Regions from separate parts of the Homo sapiens genome. Here all the other regions are linked to region 2. The links are contacts of gene promoters, found by promoter capture Hi-C in blood cells and fetal thymus (Javierre and others, 2016). All regions are on one chromosome and are shown on one strand. The core of a region is centred on a gene start or on the middle of the fragment in contact, and the rest is flanking DNA. Distances in the headings are between cores, read along the strand shown. Region 1 overlaps PALLD (palladin, cytoskeletal associated protein). Region 2 holds the start of DDX60 (DExD/H-box helicase 60). Region 3 overlaps PALLD (palladin, cytoskeletal associated protein).

Region 1 (4,224 bases), core at 1,313-3,812, 270 kb after region 2:
CAACTGACTTTTGTATGTTGACTTTGTATCCTGCTACTTTACTGAATTTGTTTATCAGATTTTTTGTGGAGTCGTTAGGGCTTTCTATATAAAAGATCAGATCATCTGTGAACAGAGACTATTTGACTTCTCCCTTTTGTGATCTGAATCCCTTTTATTCCTTTTTCTTGCCTAATTGCTCTGGCTAGGACCTCCTGTACTATGTTGAATTTCTGATCTTAGAGGAAAAGCTTTCATTTCTTCGCTGTTTATGATGTTAGCTATGGGCTTGTCATATATGCCTTTAGTATATTGAGGAACATTTCTTTGATACCTATCTCGTTGAGAATTCTTATGAAAGGAGTTAATTTTGTCAAATGTTCTTTCTGCATCTATGGAGATGATCAGATAATATTTATCCCTCATCCTGTTAATGTGGTATGTCACATTTATTGATTTGCATATGTTGAATTATTCTTGCATCACAGGGAGAAATCTCACTTGATCCTGATGTATGATCCTTTTAATATGCTATGAATTTGGTTTGCTGGTATTTTGTTGTGGGAAAATATAATGTTATATGCATAGTTGCCTCCAACCTAAGCCAGTGCCTGATAAATGAAAGGCTTTGCACTCTTAATTGAACAAATTCCTTGGTTCCAGTACTTTACTGTTCATTGAAAGCCAGGAAGTACTGGGACAAAGAAATTATTAGAGTTGATAATAAAAGAGTAAACAGCATACTCATTATTAGCAGCGTACTTTCTCATTTTCCCTCCCTGATAGGACTTTAACTCTCTTCTATATATTTCAGCCCTAATGTACTTATCATATAGTCTTTAGGAACAAGAGAAAAGACCAAGTAGAATATGTACAAAACTAAAATAAATACAGAGACATTTCTTTTTGTTTTATTAGGAAAAGTTAGGAGGATGAGAAACAGTGAAATCTAAGATATTGTTCCTACAATATTTTGCTATGTGTATGGTATGGATGAATAAAGTGAAATATCCTTTATAATTATCTAAAAAGTATGTGAAAGTGAATAGATGATGCTGAAACTAAAAAATTTTATTCTAGATCAGTGCTTCTCAAACATTAATGTGCATACGAATCACCTGAGGAGTTTTCCAAGCACATTTCGATTCAGCAGGTCTGGGCTGGAGACTGAGATTCCACAATCACAAAGAGCTCCCAGGGAGTACTGATACTGCTGGTCTGCATATCACACTTGGAGTAGAAAGGTTCTAGATTACATAGACCGTCATCTTCATGCACCAGACTTATTTCCTAGTCTGGGTTCCTCTGGAAATATTTCCAGTGCACCAATCAGTTTGATGGAGTTGGATAAAGAGGGAGACTCAAGATTTACTTCACTTGAAAAGAATATTTATTTTCCATTTAAGGCTAATGGACTAATGGACTAAATATTACACATCTCAGCCCTTGGGATATCTGTGATAATATTTTTCTTTTCCTACCAATGTGCTTTTACTCTATACTTCTGCTCTGCTGGGTGGCCAATGGGACCTTGTCTGTTTACCAAGCCTAGTTCTCAGGTCTACTTTCCTTCGATATCTTTTCTTTCTTCCAACCTTCCAATCCAAACTGAGGTGGTGGTATTCCCCACCACCAAGAAAGGCATAGTTTCCATTTTTTCTCTACCAGTTCTAGTACATGCAATTAAATTTTCTGAGCCCAAAATTTCTCATCTCTGAAATAAGGAGCATGAAACTCTGTGCGTGGGTGCATATGAAGCTAATGAAATGGCACATAAAGTGTCTAACACAAAGAAGGAACCAAATAAATATCAGATTCTATCCCTATCCCACTTTTATTTTGTCCCATTCCAATGTGGCTTTGCATAATTGGAAATCATTATGTATAGACATCAGGTAAAATCTAGCACCAGCTTATATAGTACTCTAAGACCATCAGGTTTTTTTTTTTTTTACCTCGTCTTCAGTTTTAATTTAAAGCAATTAAAATTAATATATTCAGATTTCAACAAAGTGTAAGCATCCCTCTGCTGAACCACTGTATCATTACAGTGTGCGTTAAGAATGCCAATAGGCATGGAACAGATGCCAGATAACCAAGATGGTACTTTTACTGGGTCTGGCATTAAACAAAGAAATGTGTTCATAAGTCATCTTTCTTGGATCTCAACCAAAAATTGTTATTTTGGATTTTGTCATCTTTCCATTTAAATTTCTACTTAATCCTTCATTAGAGTATGTGTTAACAATCTTAATTTGTGTGATTGCCTTCATGAAAAGTTGGATATATAAAATAAATGTCACTTTTAAGGCATCTAAGGAATTGTTTTCTATCTTAGTCACCAAGTATGTCAGACACATTGCTTACAATGTCTTCTATTTCAATCTGTGGTTTGTTTCTGCCATCCAAAAATGAGTAAACTTTAGTTTCACCCAGCCGTGTTTCTGAATATGAACATTCAAATGTGGACCATGTGTGATGGAAAATCCTGCCATGGCTGAGAATATGGATAAACTTGAGGGGGACTGTTTGATGGAAAGTCATTATATAATGTATATTTTCTTTCATTCATTTAACAAACATTTATTCTAGGCCAATGGTGAGCAAAATATTCCCTCAACAAAGTACCCATGCACACACACATGAAGAAACTACACATTTATTTGGAATGTCTAGTAGAGTTCCCCCCTTTCTTGGCTATTTTACACCAGTTCCCATATAACTGGTTTATATAATAATAGTTATTTATGATAAAAATTTGACTAATTCTAACTGACAAGAAGATAGATATGTTTGTTTTGGAAACTATTTCTATTTGGTAATAGATTCCAAATGTATTGAATGGTCTCTAAAAGATGTAGGAACACAGGACATACTGCTCATGATGTACAACAAAAACAATAGTTTCAAAATTTTATGACATATTGCAGTTTATCAAGTGGTTTTATAACCATTATCTTGTTTAATTCTCACAACATCCTTATGAGTAGTGTGTGTGTGTGACCATGAGAATATATGAGTGTGAGTGTGTGTGTGTGTGTGTGTGTGTCCGTGTAGGAGAGGAAATGATTAACCCATTTCATAGATGAGGTGTAACCCATTTCATAGATGAGGTGTAACTAACAATGTAGCTTCAATTATACTGGCAGGTCACAGAAAAGAGATTTGCAACCAGCCTTATGCCTCTCCTCCCACCTCTCTCTACTGACCCACATCTTTTTATGAAGTAGGGATTGCAGCCATCCCACAGCTCATCAATGCTGTCATGTCTATGCACGAAGGCACTCTTAGATAGAAGAGAAAACAGAGGGGGGCCTGGGATCCAGTCCCCAGCGCAGGCACTGAGTGTGCCCCTGGCCCCATCAGTTTAATTCTGAGCGCTCAGGACAGTATGAGGAGCAGCCTGTCGTTTTCGGAGACACCAGCTGAGGGAGCCTGTGGACACAATACCAGTTGAAAAGCTCCCCAGCCCAGGGTGGAACCAAGCAGCCCACGCCTGCTCTTAGGAGCCAAGTTTCCCAAACAATGTCAGAGTTAGCTTGGGGAATCTTCTTAGTACTCTTAAGAGGCCAGAGCTGAGATTTCCACACAATGACATATTAAAGTATTGGATCCAGGGTCCTTTGCATTGGTAGAATGTCAGGAAAATAGCATTAGCTAGATAAACTTCTTTCCCTCAAACCAAATACAGTCGTATTGTTTACTATTATAGGTCTATTAAGGTTGCTGTTTAAATGTTACCAATGTCCTCATATTTTGGTAATTTTGTTCGAGTTGGAAAGAAATGTCTTGAGAAATTTTTATTTAGCCAGAGTGTTTGAGCACTTTAAGATATCTTTAGTATACTACATCGCTTCTCCAGGTCCTCAAGAGACCTAAAAAAAAAAAAAAAAAAAAAAAAAGGCTTTCTAAGCAGTGCCTATCAAGCTACTACTTCCGGCCCCACAAAAAAGAAAAGCTGAGACTCTTCACCCCTTGATTCCAGTATTCCCAAACTCCTGGTAAACCATTAGGAATTAGATATGCCCCAAATTTATGTAGCAACTCCCTTCTTAAGAATATAGAGAACGTTTTTTTTTACACACCTTGTTACACCTCACAATTGAGCCTCAACTTGAGATTCCCTTGCCCAGCAAAGTCCAGAATTCACCACTGTCTACATGCTGGACCCAATTCGTTTTGCTGTCGTTGATCACTAATTTGGGAATTGTGGGAGGGAGAGGAGGAGCGAATCCCTCTCTTTAC
Region 2 (4,105 bases), core at 540-3,039:
TAGAAGAATCGCTTGAACCTGGGAGGCAGAGGTTGCAGTGAACTGAGATCAAGCCACTGCATTCCAGCCTGGGCAAAAGAGCAAGACTCCGTCTCAAAAAAAAAAAAAAAAAAAGAAGAAGAAGAAAAAAAAGAAAACCTGAATCTGATCAAAACGCTAGTAGTAATGATTAATTTACAAGAAATTTAGAGGCCAGCAAAATATGTTAAATGACACCACAGGGATTAGGACACATACACACACACACACATAAACACACACCCAACAGGACACACACATACAAAAACAAACAATCATAAGACCACAAATCTTACAAACGAATAAATTAAAAGGGGATGAAAGAAATTGCAAGAACCTTATAAGGCTTATCCTCCAATCACAGTAGTGTCAGAACCATATTCTGATTCAAACAATCTTAAAAAGGAAGAAGAAAAGAAGAAGGGAGGAAGAGAAATGGAAAAGAGAAAAAAGGAGGGAAGAGGAAAGGCGCAAAGGGGAGGTAAAGAGGAAAAAAATGGGGGCAAGGGAAGGGAAAGGAAATCATGGATTCTGTATTGGAACAGAATGGTGGAGCTACTTGATGAAAGGCATCAAGCTCCTGAAACCCTGCCTGGAGAAGAGCTGGTGGGTTAAAATGGCTTCCAGTACCCGGTATAACCCTCTCCCCTTGAGTGTGGACAGGACCTGTGAATTTAATGGCATAGTCTCTTTAATGATTCGGTTATATTATGTAAGACTTCATCATAGTAGACTCGGGAGATTCCCCCAAAGAGGCTTATACCTTCTTTAAAGGTACCCTATACCTTCTTTAACGGTATAAGCCACCTTGTTGTGAGAAGGCCACTGTAGCTAAGATCTCAGGGTGAAATCTAAAGACATGGGAACCCCCAGCCAACAGCCAGCAAGAAAGCAGGTAACCTCAGTCCTTTAGCTGCAAGAAACTGAATTCTTCCAACAACCTGAATGAGCATCCATGGTGTCCCATGAGGCCACAGCTCTGACACCTTGATTTCAGCTCGATGAGATGCTGAACAGAGAACTCACTTTACCCATGCCTGGGCTTCTGATCCACAGCAATTGTAAAATAATAAACTTGTAATGTTTTAAGCCACTATACCTGCCCCTTGACCAGGAATAAATTAAGTTACTGGAGTAGGAAATAAATTTCTATTGTCTTAAGCCACTGAAATTTAAGGGTGCACAGAAATTACCTGGGGGAATCTTATTAATAAACGCAGATTCTGATTCTACAAGTCTGGAGCAGGGATTGAAGGTGGAAGCTTCTTGCTGCTGTCAATGTACAGGTTTTACTGGCTGTGCTTAGATATGATGTCCCTTAATTTCTCCTCAACCTCCATTACCCAGCTCCCACCTTTGACGGGGACTCCTTAAATGCCTAACTAAGCACTCCTCTCTGTCTCAGACTTCAGGCCTTTCGCGGTTGTCCCTTTCCTCCGCCCCTCCCCACGCCCGGCCTTCCGGGCCAGCAGGGGGCCCGTGCGCCACGGCCTTGCGATCCCAGGAGGTTCCCCAGATTCCCGCGCCCCGAGCCCAGCACTCCTGGGCCACCTCCCTGTCCGGTCCGTTGAAGAAGACCTAGAACTCCCGCTAGACAGCTCCGCCCCAGGCTCTTCCCAAGGGACATCCCCGGCTCCTCACCGCGGACTCAGGACCGGTGGTGTCCAAAGACCCGCGAGCTGCGCGCCCCGCGGGGAGGGAGTGAAACAGAGACCTAGCGCAGAGCCCAGGTGGAAGTTCCAGGTTACCCCAGACCTGGCCTAGGACTCGGCGCTCTGAGCCACCGCAGCCAGTCTTTTATGCATCCGGCGGGAGTTTCGGTTTCCTTTCTCCTCTCAGAAGCACTTAGGTTTCAGTTTCCCTTCAGCACGAATTAGGCGAGGCACTTTCGTGGAAAGTTTAGCATCCTTCCCTTCAATCAGAATCTTAAGAAGGGGAGCATGGCGAGACGTTAGTTAAAAGGTATGAAGTTACAATAGCTAGGAAGAACCAGTTCTGGTATTCTATTCTGCAGTAGGGTGTGTATAGTTAACAATAATGCATATTTCAAAATAGCTAGAAGAGAGAATTTTGAATATTCTCATCACAAAGAAATAGTAAAGTTTTGAGGTAATAGATGGGCTAATTATCCTGATTTGATCATCACACAATGTATACATGTATTGAAACGTCACATTGTACCCCAAAAATATATACAATTATTATGCGTCAATTAAAAATAAAATGAAACTAAAAAAAACCTTAAAAGAGAGAGACAAAGGCAATAAAAATGGGCTTTGGAATTTGGGCATAAATATAGAGTAAATTGAGGCAGAAAAATTTGTAACATCTAAACAAGATAAAATCAAGAAGAGTTAGAATTTAGAAATTGATAAAATGTAAAAGACACTGTGGAATCTGAAACCCCACAATGAAATTGGAGATCTTGCTGCTTCTACTTGTATGCAAAAAGAAAAAAGAAAGTATGTAACAATACATGAACTTTGAGTTTCTGTTATGAGAAGCTGATGATTACTGTTCTGTATAAACTGTAATTGGTACTTTCATGGGCCAAGAATCAACATTAAAAAATAAATTGAAAATGCAGAATGGTCACATTTATTTGTGCCTCAAATTGATGAAATGTTCTCTTAATTTTTGCCTGTTGATACTTGCAGTGTGGGTTTCGATACTCATCTCCTTTCCTTTCAGTGCCCTCGTATGCTTGATTTCATTAATGCTATAAATATGCATTCATATATTGGAAATAGAAGAGGGTGTGGAGGAAAGACAGCAGTGAATTTGGGTAATCAGCATGATAAGAAGCCACAGGCTGCTTTGTCTACAAGGAAAGGAAAGAGCCAAGGTCCAGGCACTGCTCCACAGGGAACACAGAACAGAGAGAGTAGTGAATGATACTTTGTCTTGTGAAAAATTAGAGAGTCAAGTTGTTAAAAGAGGGGGATATGGGGAAGGAGGACATTTCTCACATCCATCAGACAATTACTTGTTTATTCATTTGTTTAGAAATTCACGTGTTTGTTAGTGATGAGATTAAGAAAGAAAATAAAAGACTCTAGAATTTAACACATGATTGGTCTTAAATCAGCCAATATTCCTGTCTCCTTCACTGTGATCTCTGATGTACCTGCCTGGGGTAGGCTGAATAATACCCTGCACTCCTCCCTCCAAAAGAGGCCAAAATCCTAATTCCTGGAACCTATGAATACAGTAACTTTCATAGCAAAAGTAACTTTGCAAAATAGATTAAATAAGAATCTTTAGAAGAGGAGATTACCCCTTACCCGGGATTATCCAGGTGGGCCCAAGGTCATCAGAAGGGCCTTTATAAGAGGGAGACAGGAGTTCGAGGGGCAATGTGATGATAGAAACAGTCAGTGACAGAATGTGGGGACACTACACAGATGGCGTTGAAGACAGTGGAAGGGACCACGGGCCAAGGAGTCTGGTGGTCTCTAGAAACTACCAAAGGCAAGGAAACATTTTTTTTTTCTAGAGCCTCCAGAAATCAGCCCTGATAACACCTTGACTTCAGCCCAGAGAGACTGATTTTGAACCTCTGAGCTCAGAACTGTAAGAGAACAAACTTGTGTGGTATTAAGCCACTAAATTTGTGGTAATTTGTTACAGCAGCCATAGAGAACTAATACAATATTGCAAACTGTATTGTAGGAAATGAATAACATATTTGCAAACAGCAGAAATAATGGATTGTGTTATAACAAGAGGTAGAATTAATTCAGACAGCTACTATGTGCTAAGCAATATGCTAATACCATATCAATGATCACAGCAAGTTCATGAGGTGTGTACTATGATTTCTGTCATTCTGTAGATAAGAAAAATAAAGCTTCGAGGGATAAAACAGCTAATAAATTATACTAAGATTCAAAATGTGGTCTAACCCAATGGCCTATCTACAACATTCTCTATTACATAATTTCATCAAATGCTTCAAATTCTACAACTGAAAGTGTTTCAGCTAGTGGACAAATGATTTTTTTTTGCTTAAATTATAAAGTTTTTTAGAATATATGATGTTCTACAGTTGTTTCGACTTTCAGTGACCGGATTTATCAGGTGAGAG
Region 3 (4,204 bases), core at 751-3,250, 290 kb after region 2:
AAAAATTCTGCAGGCTACATTTCACTTCTGGCATTTGTCTGTTTTGAAGTTTTGCCTTTCTGGTACCATTTTAATGCTCAACTACCTGGAATCTGGGCTGATACTGCTCACGGATTTTTCTTCTTTCTGGTAGTACATGTTTCTCACCAGCAGTCTTAAAGCCTGCTTGATTCTCTGTCCTACTGAAAGAGCTCAGAGGATGCAGTTCCATTAATGAGTCAGATTCATCAGTGTAAAGATGTCCAACAGGCCAGGCGCCATGGCTCATGCCTGTAATCCCAACATTTTGGGAGGCTGAGGTGGGTGGATTGCTTGAGCTCAGGAGTTCAAGACCAGCCTGGGCAACATGGCAAAACCCCATCTCAACAAAAAGTACAAATATTAGCCAGGTGTGGTGGTACATGCCTATAGTCCCAGCTACTTGGGAAGCTGAAGTGGGAGGACCACTTGAGCCCGAGAGGTTGAGGCTGCAGTGAGCCAGGATCGTGCCACTGCACTCCAGCCTGGGTGACGAAGTGAGACCCTGTCTCAAAAATAAAAATAAAAATGTCCACCACAGACCTCTTCTAAGTTTCCTAAAATGCCTACTTTTAAGAAATTCAGTGTCCTTGAAATCTAGGTTTACAAAAAAAAAAAAAAAAATGCTCATCTTATAATTTCCAAAATCATCTCTTCAACCCCCTTGAAATAGGGAACTGATATATCACATCCCCATGTGGTTCCACCCCCAACCCAGGATTTCTCCCATAGTGATAATTCTGATCCCAGAGACGTCTCCACAGTTTTCTGATTCGTGGATGATCACTACAAGAACCATGAATGCTTGTGTCAAGTTGAGCCCCAACTCCCTTGCTCCAATCTGTCCAGCAGCTGAACAATGGTGAAAGTTTTCCTTGGCTGCATTCTGGGGTAATAATTTTATCTAAGGTACAGCTGTGCATTGTTCTTTAGGTCGAAAATCTGGGACATTTGCCCCCAAACGTAAGGTGAATTAAACCAGACTGCCTTGCAACTGCCTCAAAGTCTGTCTCAACACAGTGACTCATCCAAGAGAAACAGAGATGTGTCACCAAAAATATCTATAAATTTTTTTCCTGTTTTACTAGAAACTCCTTAGGGATAGAGTCGAGGGACTCATGCTGTGCTTAGAGCTAAACTTCCTGAAAATCTTCTCCCAGGGTCCTGGAGGCAAAAAGGGCAGTGCAGAATGCTCCTTAGAAGGGAGTGTGGAGGAAAATGCATGCTTATATTAGAGAACCCATGTCTCTGAAACCCTGGAATTCAAAGAGCTTTCTGGACTATGCCCTCACTGGATTCGGAACTACCAGGCTTTCATCATCAAGAATCCATCTTGCCAGCATGGGGCTGAAGTTTCTGCTTCCTGAATACCTTTTCCCCCATCAACTTCCTTCAGTAACTAGTGGAGAAAAATGAAAATATTCTGGGAGGTGGCATGACAGAAAAACTGAGTTTCTAATGTCACCCTTTGCAATGCATCACACACATTTAGATATCTCAAATGCCTGTGTCTAGGTGCCTTGTAGAGTGACCAACCATCCTGATTTGCCTCGGACTGAGGGGTTTACTGGGATGCAGGACATTCAGTGCTGAAACCAAGAAAGTCCAGGACAAACCCAAATGAATTGTTCACCCTAGTTTCATGCTCAAGATGAATAGAGACACCAAAATACAACAAAGATAAACATCTTGACTGAGGTGTATGTATTTCTGACAGCCATACCGCATCAAAGAGCATGCACCGTAATTCTTTTCAGAATTCCCCTCACCTACAGACCATCCTCAGCCTCAATCTTTACCTGTCCACATCATCTTCTCCTCATCTTTTGGATATGTGTCAGCACTCTCTGCAATTAATTGTGTTGCATCCTGTATTCCAGATAACAATGCCAGAAATGGATGCAGATTTTGGTTTTGGCTATAAGGGCTTGGTTGTGAAACATACATATTTATATTGAGAGGAAAGTAGTGGGGAGAAGAATCCTACCTCCTTTGGCTGGTTTGTGCAATGAGCTCAGGACTACACATTTAGATATGAAGTAATTAGAAATAATGAACCTCTGGGATTACCCCAAGACTTCCAGGAGACAGAGTGTGCCCCAAGTCATGCTGGCTACAAAGACTAGAACTCGTTATGGATAAAAATGGGAGAATTCGATTAAACTAATTCACGGGTGTATATCCAAAGAGTATTTAAAAACATGGTAGTGGTGCCACATAAATAATACATAGATCCTACAAAGTCATGCCAACATCGTGAAAAGAAATCTGAGTCGTAGAGCTCCACATCCTGCTGCCCTCCAGACCTAATAGTGTTATTCTTCTGGTTTGTAGCTGGGAATTCATTTAAAGGCTGGAGAATTCGGTTTCGACTGTTCTTTCTCTGCTTAAGTCATGTCATAAGTAATGTCCATCAGATGTAACTCTGTGGATGGCGCCTTCACTTTAGCAGAGAATCTCCAGTCTCAGGAAGAAAATGAAAAGTGTATTTTCCTCTTGGCTGGATTCCTGCCTCCTGTCTTTTTTCTCTATCATATTGAGCACTCTACTGGTCTTAATCATTTTTTCTAAAAAGTCCTGGATTGTATTATTTTTTAAAAAGACACTGTGGACTCTGTCACTCATATTTTTAAAATAATAATAGTAATAAATTAAAGGAAGGCCTATGTCAGTGACCATGCTGCGCTAGGGAGACCCTTGTGCCCAAAACAACAGCTCCCAGCTCAAGAGAGGGAGAGAGCAGCCACACTGGCTGGCCTAGTCAATGTTTTTTTGCCAAAGATTTCTTTGTATCTGGAAATTGCTCTTATGTGTATCATACATGTTTGAAATAGCTTTCTCCAATTTGAAAAACCATAAAGCAGCAATAAACAAATGGGACTCTGATTAAAAAAAAATACTTTGTAAGTATCATGCATACTTTTACAAGTGTTTATTAGATGGTATCATTTTGCCTTTGCTTTTGCATAGTGGACTCTCAGTGCTCATGTAAACTTCCAGATGTAGTTAGGTCCCTAGACCATCCACTAACTTGGGTATATTTTTCTCTATTAACTATTTAAAAAAAAATCACAGGAAAAGAACCTAATGCTGAAAAGGCAGCCAAAAGTACAATGAAATGAAATCAATCCTAATAACAAAGACTTCTCTTCTTTCCAAAAGCATGCGTTCCTCCCCAGTCCTGCACGGTAAACCACATCAGTGTGGGATGGTAACATTTCAGTAAGTTATTTGAATATCCCAAGACTAAGACCATGAATAAAAAGCAACAGCAGCAAGATTGCCAATAGGCTGTGGGTATTTAAAACACAATGGCAGAAGATTCCTCGAATACAAGGGATAGCTAGAGCCAATAAGCCCCAGTGCATGGATATTAGGAGGTTCATTGATTAGGGTTACATGATTAAAGAAATAGGCTAAGGGAATAAACTGCTGTATACAGGGTTTAGCTCATATTTCTTGCAATGCATTTTTTGAGTACTTTTGCCCTCGTTCCTGGGAAAGATGGTAAGTTAAAAAAAAAAAAAACTTTATAAAGCATTACATTAAAAAATTCATACAAAAGGTACTAAGAATAGAAATCACATTCATGCTTCAGTTTCACACACTTTCTGTCCCAAACAGCATATAAATAAATATGATTTTTGTAACAGCTACATTGTGGCATATACCACAAAGGGCTCGGGTATCAGGCAAGGGAAAAACAATTTATCTTCATTACCATCTATCCACACATACTTTGGTAATCATGAAGACATTTCTCCTTACAATTTCACAAGGAAAATAACAGAACTTGGGCTCTGGGTGTCAGTATCTGGCCCGAGTCCATTTAGTGGCAAAAGGAATTCTTAAGTACTGACATTACATTTCAACGGGGCACAAAGAGACAGGATTTACATTCCTTCTTGGATTAGGTTTTGTTTTCATACTCATTCTCTTTAGATAATCAAAAGCATGTGTCCCCACACCTTGCCAGTTCCACCAAGGGATCCTCAGCACCCATCTCAGAGGGGTCTGATGTGACATCTGAAAGGCGATGTTGCTGCCTCCCCAGCCAAGGGGGGTGCTTGTAATTTCTCCTGCATTATCTTTGAGGTATCACTCACCAAAGCAATGAAGGGTAACCATTCCGAATCCCACCAGTGACTCCTTCTGAAAAACCTATCAGTAGGAGCCTTCAGTTTTA

The links. The method cuts DNA at HindIII sites, captures the fragments that hold promoters and counts their contacts. A CHiCAGO score of 5 or more calls a contact.
Region 1: a fragment that was not itself captured here is called in contact with the fragment with the promoter of DDX60 in region 2 in 1 of 17 cell types (neutrophils); the score reaches 5.0 in neutrophils.
Region 3: a fragment that was not itself captured here is called in contact with the fragment with the promoter of DDX60 in region 2 in 1 of 17 cell types (neutrophils); the score reaches 6.0 in neutrophils.

The regions. Positions count from the first base shown.
Region 1 is chr4:168,582,298-168,586,521 of GRCh38, forward strand. The region is part of intron 2 of PALLD (palladin, cytoskeletal associated protein); the gene reads left to right. All of the region lies in intron 1 of LOC124900807 (a long non-coding RNA gene), which reads right to left. Among named protein-coding and RNA genes, the nearest start is that of PALLD-AS1, 64 kb to the right of the region's middle. The HindIII fragment of the contact is 4,669 bases long and covers 229-4,224 here.
Region 2 is chr4:168,316,963-168,321,067 of GRCh38, forward strand. It overlaps DDX60 (DExD/H-box helicase 60), which reads right to left and starts at 1,790. Exons shown (of 38, transcript NM_017631.6): 1 at 1,660-1,790. RefSeq lists an enhancer at 1,724-2,053. The HindIII fragment of the contact is 2,588 bases long and covers 1,279-3,866 here.
Region 3 is chr4:168,611,630-168,615,833 of GRCh38, forward strand. All of the region lies in intron 2 of PALLD (palladin, cytoskeletal associated protein), which reads left to right. All of the region lies in intron 1 of LOC124900807 (a long non-coding RNA gene), which reads right to left. Among named protein-coding and RNA genes, the nearest start is that of PALLD-AS1, 35 kb to the right of the region's middle. The HindIII fragment of the contact is 4,616 bases long and covers 1-4,204 here.